Regions from separate parts of the Homo sapiens genome. Here all the other regions are linked to region 1. The links are contacts of gene promoters, found by promoter capture Hi-C in blood cells and fetal thymus (Javierre and others, 2016). All regions are on one chromosome and are shown on one strand. The core of a region is centred on a gene start or on the middle of the fragment in contact, and the rest is flanking DNA. Distances in the headings are between cores, read along the strand shown. Region 1 holds the start of HAUS6 (HAUS augmin like complex subunit 6). Region 2 overlaps FOCAD (focadhesin). Region 3 holds the start of FOCAD (focadhesin). Region 4 holds the start of MLLT3 (MLLT3 super elongation complex subunit).

Region 1 (3,129 bases), core at 420-2,919:
AACAGGCCAGGCTCGGTGGCTCACATCTGTAATCCCAGCACTTGGAGTGGCCAAGGCGGGGGGATTGCTGGAGGCCAGGAGCTCAAGACCAGCCTGGGCAACATGCCGACCCTAGGCATGGTGCCACGCACCTGTAGTCCCAGCTACTCAGGAGGGTGAAGTGGGAGGATCGCCTGAGCCCAGGAGTTGGAGGCTGCAGTGAGCTGTGATCGCACAACTGCACTCCAGACTGGGCGACAGAGTGGGAGACCCTGTCTCAAAACAAAAAACAATGGCTCATATCTATAATCCCAGCACTTTGGAAGACCGAAGCAGGAGGATTGCTTGAGCCCAGGAATTTTGAGACCAGCCTGGGCAACATGGTTAGCTACTGTCTCTAAAATAATAATACTTTAAAAAAATAGAGGCCGGGCACGGTGGCTCACGCCTGTAATCCCAGCACTTTGGGAGGCCGAGGCAGGTGGATCATGAGCTCAGGAGATCGAGACCATCCTGGCCAACATGGTGAAACCCCGTCTCTACTAAAGATACAAAAATTGGTTGGGCGTGGTGGCAAGTGCCTGTAATCCCAGCTACTCGGGAGGCTGAGGCAGGAGAATCGCTTGAACCAGGGAGTTGGAGGGTGCAGTGAGCCGAGATCGTGCCACTGCACTCCAGCCTGGCAACAGAGGGAGACTCCATATGAAAGAAAAGAATTCCTCTTGGCCTACAGTGGGAATGATTAAATAGAGATACTGGCTAAAGTTGATAAAACAGAAGTGGAAAAAGTAGGGAAGGGGCTTTTACTTTCCATACTTTTCTTAAAAGGGTATTTGTTTTTAATACCCTTCTCCGTTGTTTTATGCTAACTCCAACATGCCTTACTAATTAAAAAATTAAAAATTATAAAATTAAACAACCACCTTCAAAGGCTCCCTTGAGTCCAAAAGGTGTTTTGTACATATGGTTCCCATGCTCTTCCACTACCACCCGCCATCCCTCCCACTACTTCACAGACCACCCCTCCACCACATAGGCAGAGTTAAGCTGCTCCTCCAGTCTTGCACTCTCCCCATCTGCAGACTTTTGCACTCCCCTACAGAGCGCTTCCGGCACTCTTGCATTATTTACTGTCTGTCTCTGCCCCTAGGCTGGCAGCAACTGGGAGTAGGAACTTTGGAGCCAATGCCTGGCACAGAGTAACTGCTCAACCAATTCTGATTAATCAACCTCCGGGGTCTACAAAAGGGGGAGTCCCCCGGCGTCCCCCGGTTCAGGCTCCCTCGCCCCGCCGGCCCCGGCCTCCTTACACTCCGAGGTGCGTGTGCGACACGATCTTTCCGCAGGCAATGGTTGCCGGGCCTGGCTCGAAGCCGAGCGCCTGCAGATACATCCAGAGATGCTCCTTCTCGAAAGCGGTGACCGAGGCCGAGCTCATCCTCGCGGTAGGCACGGTGGCTGCAAAGAAAGAAAGCGCAAGCCCAGGGGACTCGGAGGGCCCTCAAGATCCCTCCCTACGGTCAGCCTGAGGTCGCGGTGGTCCTTCCATTGCCAACGCCTGCTCCTTTCACGCCCAGAGCGATTTCGCCTCAAAGGGCCTCACAACCTCCGGGAAATTGAGTTTCTAACGGTATAGTGCGGCCACCACTGCCTCAGCGAAGCCACCACAAACCGAGACTCCCGCCCTTAAGGAAGAGCAGTGTGCGCCGGCGCCGCCAGGCGTCCGAGGGAGGAGGGACTTCCGGCAAAGACTATATCTCCCGCCATGCAATGCGTCCTTCTCTCCTCCCTTCCGGCCATGCCCAGCCAAGAAACTGCAAGACCCACCGGGCATTGCGCGGCCAGCGACTTGCTCTGCGCTTGCTTAACCGCTGTCGTGCCCAGATCCTCGGGCCTTCGGGTTTCTGATTCTTGGTTAGTGGGGTCCATTTGCTTGTGTATCCTAGTTGTTACGTCACAAAAAAGCCATAAATGGAGCACTATGCCTCGGTGTAGAGTTAAAGCATTGGTTCCATCCTCCGCTATGCTCACTGTGACTCTAATCAAGTCACGTAATCTCTGAGCCTCATTTCTGTCGTTAGCGAAATCTATGTCCTCAAATGCCGGATGTTCCTTTTCCTGCTTTAAATGAAATCTGGCTCTATACTCCCCTGCAGTCCTGCAGTCTTTTTTTTTTTTTTTTTTTTTTTTGAGACGGGGTTTCGCTCTTGTTGCTCAAGTTGGGGTGCAGTGACGCGATTTCGGCTCACTGCAACCTCCGCCTCCCGGGTTCAAGCGATTCTCCTGCCTCAGCCTCCCGAGTAGCTGGGATTAACAGGTGTCCGCCACCACGCCCGGCTAATTTTTTTGTATTTTTAATGGAGACGGGGTTTCACCATGTTGGCTGGCTGGTCTCGAACTCCTGACCTCAGGTTATCTGCCGGTCTTGGCCTCCCAAAGTGCTGGGATTACAGGCGTGAGCCACTGCGCCTGGCCGCCTGCAGTCCTCTTAATTTTTTTTTTTTTTTTTTTTTTTTTTTTGAGACGGAGTCTAGCTCTGTCTCCCAGGCTGGAGTGCAGTGGCGCAATCTCGGCTCACTGCAAGCTCCGCCTCCCAGGTTCACGCCATTCTCCTGCCTCAGCCTCCCGAGTAGCTGGGACTACAGGCTCCCACCACCACGCCGGGCTAATTTTTTGTATTTTTAGTAGAGACGGGGTTTCACCCTGTTAGCCAGGATGGTCTCGATCTCCTGACCTCGTGATCCGCCCTCCTCGGCCTCCCGAAGTGCTGGGATTATAGGCGTGAGCCACCGCACCCGGCCCGTCGTCTTAATTGACAGCTGTTGCCTACCACAAACCCCACTGACAACAGGGCCTGGAAGTGGATTGGGTAACCTGCTTTTAAGTCTCATTGCTACCTCTGGCAATGATTGTCTCCTGCCTCACTAAAATCACCTTAATAAAAGAGAGAGAGGCGGGGCACAGTGGCTCACGCCTATAATCCCAGCACTTTGGGAGGCCAAGGTGGGCGGATCACCTGAGGTGGGGAGTTCGAGACCAGCCTGACCAACATGTAGAAACCCCGTCTCTACTAAAAATACAAAATTAGCCGGGCGTGGTAGCGCATGCCTGTAATCCCAGCTCAGCTACTCGGGAGGCTGAGGCAGAAGA
Region 2 (3,129 bases), core at 191-2,690, 1.9 Mb after region 1:
TCTCTGTTTTCTTACAAAAACCTTAAAACACTGAGAAAATACAGATAAGCAGAAAGAAGTGTAGTTTAAATCACAGTAATCCAACTACTCAGAGGTGGCTCCTATAATCACCATTTCTATGATTGTCTAGATTAGTCTGAAATCTAAATGGATAGATCCTGGACAGGTGTTTAAAATGCATGAAGAAGCTGGGCACAATGGCACATGTCTATAGTCCCAGCCACTTGGGAGGCTGAAGCAGGAGGATTTCTTGTGCTCAAGAGTTCAAGATCACTCTGGGCAACATAGTGAGACCCCATTTCTTAAAACATTTTTTAAAAAAAATGAAGAAAGACTTGCTCAAAAGTAGAATCAGAGTATACATATTTTTAAAAATTAGTTTTGCCCACATAACCATAAATATTTCTTCATTTTGTAAGCTCTTTGAAAACATCAAAACAGAGGAATGTTTGGATCTTGATGTGATTAGGAATTGAATAAACGATGTTTCTCCTGAAATGTTAGAGCGATAATAATGAAACTGTTGGGTCTTCTGCCTTCACATAAAGGGACTTCAAAAATCTTCTAAAGCCCCAAAATGTATCTTCATTAAACATGGAAACTGAGTTTACTGTTCAGTTCAGTTCCTCTTCTGGGTGGGGGTAGGGCAGGAGGGACTGGTTGGGTGAAGGGGAAGATGACATTGCCTCACGACAGGGGCTGTGTATGTGAACATGTGTTACTTTGAATTGTTAAAAAATATGACCTAACGTCATTTCTATTTTCATCGTAGGCTTTGGACTTCTTCTTGCTGATATTTGCAACCGCAGTGGTTGCATGGGCTGACCACACTGCCCCTCTCCTCCTCGGCCTCAGTGCCAGTTGGTTGCCATGGCATCAGGAGAATGGCCCGGCTGGGCCAGTACCAAGCTTCCTTGGCAGGAGTCCAATGCACAGGGTCACTCTGCAGGAGGTTCTCACTCTCCTTCCCAATAGCATGGCTCTGCTGCTGCAGAAAGAGCCATGGAAGGAACAGACCCAGAAGGTGAGGCTGGCAGCCACCTGCTTAGCAGGGCAGGCAGCCATTGTCTCTTCAGCAGTTTCTACTGTAGAATTGAGGTGGGAGTTAAGTGCGTCTTGAATCACACCACAGACTTTCCTACCCAGCCCCATATCTCAGCCAGATGCAGAGTCTCAGAGATTGAGGCTAGCCCAGGCTCGGGGCAACTGCTGATTAAACAACAAGGTGGCAGCTTGCTTACAGCTGGGAGTGAGGTGGAGGAAAAGTCCATACTTCATTTATTGAAGGCACTTGTTTTCTTGATCCTGGGGAGGAAAGGGTGAGTATGTCTCAGAGCTCAGAATCTCAAGGTGAGGGTCGACGGGAAGGCAAATTCAGGATTGCAAATCGTGTGATAAGTAAGATACAGTGGTGATGAGCAAGGGAAGGAGTTGATCAACAATGCCTGGGTGGGTCAGGAAGTTTTCTGCCAGGAAATGTGGGTCGGGAGCATCCATCTTCTTGTAGCATCTTTAAGGTTCCCCATAGCTTATTCCATTGCACAGATATGCTCCAGGCACCCAGTGTGCCCTGGTCTGTGCTAGATGCCAAACAGAGCTTTGTAAAGGTCTGATAGTATCACCCTTGCCCTCAGGAAAACCTAAATTGTTTAGTTTGCTGTTCAGTCTAGTTCCTCTTCTGGAGTAGGGGTGGGGCGGGAGAAGGAGTTGGGTGAAGGGGAAGATGACATTGCGTCATGTTGAGGGCTTTGTATGTGAACATGTGTTACTTTGAATTGTTAAAACATATGACCCAAAAGGAAACATTTTTTGGTTTTTAATGTTGAGGTTCCCCAGGCTACTAGCTGTTCTGCAAAGCATAACTGTGCTTACTGTACTTCTCATTATATGTTTCTGACCTGTCCTTAATACAGTTGGTTGAAAGATTCTTTTTTGAATCTCATTTAATCAAAACTGGATTTTTATGAAGTTGAAAGCTTCAAACTAACTTTTTTTTGCTTATTCTTGAAATCTGAACATTAATCTTTAAAAACATTTCTGAACTGTAGACCCATAGTTTAGCTATGCACAACTCCACCAAGTATCTCAACTAAAATGCCTTTTATTTTTCTTAAACCTGATAAGCATTAGTATTGCTGCCCCAAATTTTGTGCTTTGTGTCCCATTTAAAATCAAATTTTGGCTGGGCACAGTGGCTCACACCTAGAATCCCAGCACTTTGGGAGGCCAAGGCAGGCAGATCACGTGAGGTCAGGAGTTCGAGTCCAACCTGGCCAACATGATGAAACCCTGTCTCTACTAAAAATGCAAGAATTAGACGAGTGTGGTGGTGTGTGCCTATAATCCCAGCTACTCAGGAGACTGAGGCAGGAGAATCGCTTGAACGCAGGAGGCGGAGGTTGCAGTGAGTCGCAATCCCTCCGCTGCTCTGCAGCCTGGCTGACAGATTGAGACTCTGTCTCAAAAAAAAAAAAAAAAAAAAAAATTTAAATGTGGTCTTCCCATATATTATTTCTGGACTGGGATACCACGTTCCCTTTGGACTACAATGTAGACCTCTTGCATTGATTATATATTTGTAGTGCTTGACTTTTTTGCTTATCGGTTGGATATTATAGCACAAAACTGAGAAAAGGAAAATCAACAAAGAAAAAAATTTTTGATTAAAGCAGGGAATTAGGAATATTTTCTTTTTCTCCCTATTTTACTCTTTCTTCAATCTAGCTTCTATATGTGAAACTAAAATGCCTATTACCTATCACCAATGTATGTGTTTTTAGTGAACCAAGATTGGCAGCATTCAGTCATTGATTAAATTACCCTGTATCTAATTCAAAAACAATTCAGGCTGCATCCTGAGAGATCAGCCAAACTCATAAATACTATGAGTTTCCACCTCATTTGCAGGATTTATTCATGGTTAACATGCTTGGCTCTACCTAGTGAATTATTTTATGCCATTTCTCTTGCATTTCAATTTTCTGTTTCATATCCATTTGGGCACAACTGTTCTCATCTACAGAAACATATTTTATTTCAGAAATGGGGGCTTATATCTGATGTGTTTTCTATTTACTGCCCAGCCTAGGAGCCTAGACCAAGCTGCACACAGAACCAGGTGGGAGGCAG
Region 3 (3,129 bases), core at 29-2,528, 1.6 Mb after region 1:
CGCGCGAGCCGGGGAGGGCGGGCCCCAGCCGGAGGAGGCGGAACAGGGCCTCGCGATATGCAGCCCATTGGCTCTCTCCTGCAGTCCCCGCCCCCGGGCGTTCGAGGCGGCGGGGCGGGCCACGTCAGGCAGCCGGCGCTGGGCTGAGCTTGTGGCAGAAGGGAGGTAAGCCGTGCGGGGCGGCGGGCTGCCACCGCTGCACCCCTGCTCGGGAGCCGCCGGGTCGCGCCGCCTGCGGCCCGGTCGGCTTGCATGGAGGGCGGCTGAGGCCCTGCGGGGCTGGGGCTGAGCTGGGAGACGGGGCAGTGGAGCATGTGGCGGCAGGGCCGCGTCGCGGCGAGGGGCAGCCGGGAGGGGGCTTTTTGCCCTCGTCCGGTCCTGCTGGGGCTCTCAGCTTCTGGAGGACTAGGCCTTCTGAGGTTACGGAGCTCCGAGATACCTGGGCAGGGCTGGCTGTGGTGACTGCGGTGGGACTTAGTGGGATCTCGACTCGGAAGCCGGTCGGCGCGATCCTTGCATACTTAGCTGCAGCAGGTTGCAGTCGTCCCACTCTCCTTCGACCGGTTCCCTAGTTGGGGGCAGAGCAGGAGATTCTGGCCGCGTCCTGCCTGGCCTGGGGTGACTGTCTCCTTCTCATTCCCGGTGACTCACTCAGATCATGTCCACTTATAATGCAAAGGCTTATGGGTGAGCAGGGCCTGTTTTCAGTCTCCTAGTTCTCTGGCTCCGTCCGCACTTGCGGCAATTACTTGAAGAAAGAGTATGTTAGATGTATGTTTTGAAATTTTCGCAGCAGCTAACGCGTGGAGACGTGCAGTTATGTTGCATTTACCCTTCATGAGTTTTAGTTTCAGCTGTGGCGTCCTGATATCTCAGTGTGGTTCCTGAATTTGGAGCTTTTGAAATGAATGAAATCCTGCCAATTTCATGCAGTCATTCATTCATACATTCCAAACTTTTTTGATGGATGCCTTAATGGTCAGCCTCATACCAGGTATTAAAATCGGCATTTCCTGCGTTTTATTCCAGTTTATATGTTAGTTTTATTGTCTAGATTTGAGTTGGAAATTTTTTTTTTTTTTGTTATTTTCAGGTTCTAGTATCCCTGAAACCATCGTGGCTCTGAGGGTGTAATCCTGATAACTGTATCAGTAATGACTCCAGGTTTCAGTGGCCTATCTGTAAGAAGAGGAATGGGATTAGTATAATTTTGAGATTTTCCAGGAGAGGAGGGTAGATGGCATGTTTCCTGAACTGTGTTAACAGGAAGTAACTATTTTAAAAACACAGGATGCATTTTATGATTATGTTTTACTGTGTCAACGAACATTGTATCTGTCCACATTCACTTTTTGACTACCAAGCAAGTGCATGTTTACAATTTTGATTCACATCCAATTCCTGCGTAGAAAGCACTGTGACTCATCTGAATTTTGAAATGAAGTAATCATGAGCTTTTTAATGTTACATACAAAGGTATGATATTGAAACAATTGCATAAAAATGCAATTTTCAAAGCATTTTCACTTGCTTTTATAGATTAGTGGAAGCTAAAACCTCTGCCTTGATTATTTGCTTACTTAATCAATGTTAGGTAGTTACCATCTCTTGGCTAATGTTTATCAATATTATATCTATTTTAACATTTGTTTCATTAACCCCAAATTTACTGGATTTTAACTGATTGTTGTCTCCAGTTGACGCCTGATAACCAAAAGGTTATCAGGAGGAGCTGGAGGAGGCGGAACACAGCCTCGCGCCCTGTAATAAATAGTTTGAAATCAAAATTTTCATGGACGTATAACCAGAGTTTTTCATTTGTTGATTGATTGATGGTGCTTACCGGTAAATCGTTTGGCCTTTTTCCCCGTTTAAAATGATTTATGAAACAGTCTGAGACATAATATTCTTAGCTTCATGATACTTTTGGGATATTGTCCACAAGTGATTAGTTGAATTAAATTGTTAATATCACTATTAGGAGTTTGGAAAATTTAAGAAAATATAACTTCTTAAAATTTTGCATTTGCTATTTTTTTGTTTGTTTGGAGACAGGGTCACTCTGTCGCCCAGGCTGGAGTGCAGTGCTGCGATCTCGGCTCACTGCAACCTCCGCCTCCCAGGTTCAAGTGATTCTTCTGCCTCAGCCTCCTAAGTAGCTGGGATTACAGGCGCATGCCACCACACCCAGCTAATTTTTGTATTTTTAGTAGAGACGGAGTTTCACCATGTTGGCCAGGCTGGTCTCGAAATCCTGACCTCAAGTGATCCCTCCGCGTTGGTGTTACATCTTTCAGTTCTAGAAATGGACCTGATCAAGATTGCAAGGTTAATGGGGAAAATTCAAGAGCTGAGGACATTAACCTTCTAGCGGGAAAAAACCACAATGAGAAATAATAACTATATTTGGAGGAAGTGTAAGGAAATAATAGTTTAAGGATTATTAGTCTATAACAAATCTTGATCTTAATCAGTATTTCTTGATGTATAACAAAGAACTTGGTTTAAGCACAAAAAGAAAATTAGGGTGATAATTTAAATTTTGATCAAGTGGGTAGTAAGTATTTCTTTAGGAGATGAGAAATCTATAGATCTAGAGATGCATGGTATAATAAAGTATGGTATACTTATATGAGTATAAGTCTGTGATTCACAATTAGTAATAGATTGATGGAGGTTTTGTTACTATTTCCACATGATAAGAAACAAGATTTGCTAAGCTGATAGGACAAGGGATATTTGTGAATTTCCTCCATGTAAATGATTTGAAACAACAAAGTTTTAAGTGATGTGGAAGAGCCCATCTATTTTCAAACAATGGATTGAAATGTAGTTTTTGTAACCCTCTAAGTACTTCTGGCCTCATAGTTTTTTTTTTTTTTCCCCCTACTCAGGTCATATTGAAAGTAATAAAATTGTGTTTATGATTTTAAAAGTTTATATTGGCTTTCATTTAATTAGTCTGAGTTACTTTAGTTTTATATATTTTGAAGATGTTCCAAAACCCTTGACTTTAAATACTGTATAGCTTTCCATTGTTCATGAAAGAAAACATTTCTTTAGGCCAAAGGAAATTGAGAATCCAACTTGCATAGATAGTCAGTTTATTACTATTATTTAAAGATTTAT
Region 4 (3,129 bases), core at 462-2,961, 1.5 Mb after region 1:
AGCTCCAGGGTAAAGAAGATGATTGCGGAGCATGCGCCGTGGCGCCTGACACCCGGGCTCCGAGCCTCACAGGGCGGAGGGAGGGCTTGCGGGCGGGGCGGAGCGCGCGGGGAGGCAGAGCGAGCGAGCCAGGGGGAGCTCGAAAGAGCCAATCACCTGCCACCTCCCGAAACCCCGGCGGCCCGCAGCGCCACACTGGAAAGCCTCGCTTAAAGTAACAGGTTCCTGCTGGGGGGGTGGCAGGGAGGGGACGCAGGAGTGGGGAGAGCGGCCAGCTGGGGAGCCATCCCAGCCCCTGTGTAAACTCTGCTCGCCCTACAATAAAAAACGGATTAAAACTGCTGGAATGTAGCCACTGCTTAGAGCCCTCAGCAGCCGGAGAGGGGGTGTTAAATCAAGTCCTTAGCTAGTACGCACGGGGAGGAGGGAGTGGGCTTTCTTTTACTTTCCACCACGTATTTCTGTGGTTTTGTGCTGAAAAGACAAGAACTCACACCCAAACAAACTTACTTAAAGAGAGCGAGAGAAATGCCATCCTGCAAAAAACGAGCATGAAAATAGCAATGACTGAGGCTGTTCTAACCCGCAACGATCCCCTGGCCCCCTGCCCCATCCACTCACAGGCACCCGCCCGCCACCCTCACTCCCCGCCCTTCTGCCACCGCCACCGAAAATTTGAAAATGAAATGAACAAGGGAGAAACAAGGATGCTATTTCCTTGCAAGGGAACGCCTTCCGCTTTGGTAATCCCCGGCTGGGAAGCTTCATAAAGCGGTGCCCAGGTGAAAGCAAGACACCTGGGAGTGCCGGGTACAGACCCTCGGGGACCAGGCTTGGAGTTGTTTTCTTCGGGGGGCTTCCCCTCCTGACAGCCTACTGAGTTGCATCAGAACGTGGAGGATTGTCCTCTGAGGACGCGCGGGGCAACCGGGAGTCTTAAAATAGCAGATAAAGTTAATACTGACTGTAATGTGCGTAAATTGGATTATAATCTTTAGGCGTATTGGTGACAACCAGCGTAATCCATCTCTGAGTATTAATCCGGTTAGACTCCCGGGTGACAGCCAGTCGCAGGAGTGTTCCCAGAGTCGCGCCTCTGCAAATGTTCTCACTCGCGTTGTATTTGATCTCAGTGGCCGGAGATAGAACAGCGCGGCCACGCGTGGGGCGCGGAGAGGAGTATCAACTACTGGCTTCCTTTACAGACGCAGATAACCTTTAAAAAGGAAACGGATAAGATCTAGACGATTGATTTGAAAGTGAAAGATGGATGTGACTTTGGTTCGTTAAAAAAAGATCCTTGCATCTTCCTAGCCCTTAGACCTCTTTTGCCTTCTCTTTACTCCCCTTTTTCCCTCGCCTTCCAACTTCTTGCTGAACCTTGATTTTTCCTTCTCTTCTCCTTGCCTTTCCTCTTTGTCCCTCTTTCTTTCCTCTTTGTCCCTTTCTTTCCTCTTTGTCCCTTTCTTTCCTCTTTGTCCCTCTTCCTCTTTCTGACTGAACTTCCTTGCTTTCCTCTTTTCCCTTTACTTCCCTTTTCCACAAAAGCAAGTTGTCTCGGCCCTTGAATTGAGAAGAGCAGAATAGCGGGGAGGACGTTACCTAGGGCGTCCTGTGTCCTCGCTGTTAATTTTCAGTTCTCCCAGCAGCTCTCACAAAGATCCTGGGAATCAGGTCGGACCACTTGGAACCAACCTTAGTTTCCAAACCAGCAGCCTTCCAACTCAACTTTTGATTCCCTAAAACTGATATTCCGCTGCCTGTCAGTTATAATCAAGAAACTTCTTTGGCTTGAGGTCCCCAGTTCTTCCCAGCCTTCTACAGGATTTAGCATAGAATGGAGCAAACGACTGAAGGTAGAAACATTTTAATCTAAATCCAAGGGCTTAGATTTGTCAACTGACACACATATACATAACTGCATATCATCCTGTAGGTATATGCGTCGCTGTGTCTGTATGTATGTACAAGGACTACGTTTATATTCGCAGAGACAAGCTGTGTGGGTAGTATCTACGTGAAGGGGGGACCTATTTATTGTGCATTATTAAACTTTTCATAAAATAATCAAATTTGAGAGCAGTCCTTTGTAATAATAGTATTGGAAACTAAAGGTTATCTGGACGTGCCATTAGTAAAGCCATTTCTTATTAAGAAGTAACCATTAACAGCGAGTGTAGCTCAGGACACAGGCAAAAAACAACAATCCCATTCCCCGTTTGAGTTCATTTCAGGGTTTAACTTCTTCCGGCGCCAGCCACCGGACTCTCTTGAGATTGTCTCCAAAACTTGTACCCGCACAACAGATAGAGGTCTCTTTTTTGAATTATGTGTTTGCTGAATTCAGATTTATTCCAGCAATCACTAATAAGCCATAGAGTCTGAAAGGGTATTTTCCCAGTACCCCTCCTTCCTCAAAGAATGCTCTAACAACCCAACGTAGTTACTCCCAATCTCCAAATACTGGACATTTAGATTCCGTCAGTAGATGGCGCACGGAGCTCTTCCACGGACGTCCTTACGTGACCCCTTCACAACAAAAAGATCAGGAAGGGGGAGAAAAGAAAGAAAAGAAAACACAAGACTGAATACTCTCCCTTCAACTTTGGACAAAGAAATTTATGCAAGTCTGTCAATTTATTAATTACAACCTATTTTAATAAGCTTGCCATTAAAAACAATTAAAATCGATTAATTTCCTGTGCAGATCTTCACACTTTAACGTGAGGTAAAAATGTGGAAAATAACCTTTTGTGTACTTGACAATGTGGTTATAGAAAATGTACTGTAAAGAAATTTTAAGACAAACTTCAGTGCTAAATACAGAAATAGTAATATAATAACTAAAATGGAAGTGGTGAGGGATAAAATCATCTACTTATCCAAAGAATAATTATCTTACCAAAATTCATACTGTTGTATATAGCACAGTATGAAGCACCATGGGGTTAGTTTGAAGATCAGAAAAGTAATTAACATATCAAATAAAAATCGTGATGAAGAATAAAAGAGAACAGTGTCTGTGACAGATCACTACCACCACTACCATCACCATTGCCCTACCACCATCATTTTGGCTCCAGCCTTTTTATTTGCAATTGTTTTCTTTAGTCTGGAAGCTAAAGCCAG

The links. The method cuts DNA at HindIII sites, captures the fragments that hold promoters and counts their contacts. A CHiCAGO score of 5 or more calls a contact.
Region 2: a contact is called between a fragment that was not itself captured here and the fragment with the promoter of HAUS6 in region 1, in 2 of 17 cell types (M0 macrophages and monocytes). The highest score is 7.8, in M0 macrophages.
Region 3: a fragment that was not itself captured here is called in contact with the fragment with the promoter of HAUS6 in region 1 in 1 of 17 cell types (neutrophils); the score reaches 8.4 in neutrophils.
Region 4: a fragment that was not itself captured here is called in contact with the fragment with the promoter of HAUS6 in region 1 in 1 of 17 cell types (total B cells); the score reaches 5.0 in total B cells.

What each region holds. Positions count from the first base shown.
Region 1 is chr9:19,101,235-19,104,363 of GRCh38, forward strand. HAUS6 (HAUS augmin like complex subunit 6) reads right to left here and starts at 1,670. Exons shown (of 17, transcript NM_017645.5): 1 at 1,290-1,670. The coding sequence starts at 1,417. RefSeq lists an enhancer at 1,349-1,912. The HindIII fragment of the contact is 8,228 bases long and covers 1-3,129 here.
Region 2 is chr9:20,989,351-20,992,479 of GRCh38, forward strand. It overlaps FOCAD (focadhesin), which reads left to right. Exons shown (of 44, transcript NM_001375567.1): 42 at 773-1,024. Among named protein-coding and RNA genes, the nearest start is that of HACD4, 41 kb to the right of the region's middle. The HindIII fragment of the contact is 1,067 bases long and covers 908-1,974 here.
Region 3 is chr9:20,684,129-20,687,257 of GRCh38, forward strand. It overlaps FOCAD (focadhesin), which reads left to right and starts at 131. Exons shown (of 44, transcript NM_001375567.1): 1 at 131-165. It overlaps FOCAD-AS1 (FOCAD antisense RNA 1), which reads right to left and starts at 622. Exons shown (of 2, transcript NR_121601.1): 1 at 440-622. RefSeq lists a silencer at 1-433 and an enhancer at 1-573. The HindIII fragment of the contact is 8,422 bases long and covers 1-3,129 here.
Region 4 is chr9:20,622,476-20,625,604 of GRCh38, forward strand. MLLT3 (MLLT3 super elongation complex subunit) reads right to left here and starts at 24. Exons shown (of 11, transcript NM_004529.4): 1 at 1-24. RefSeq lists silencers at 3-462, 483-622. The HindIII fragment of the contact is 1,902 bases long and covers 761-2,662 here.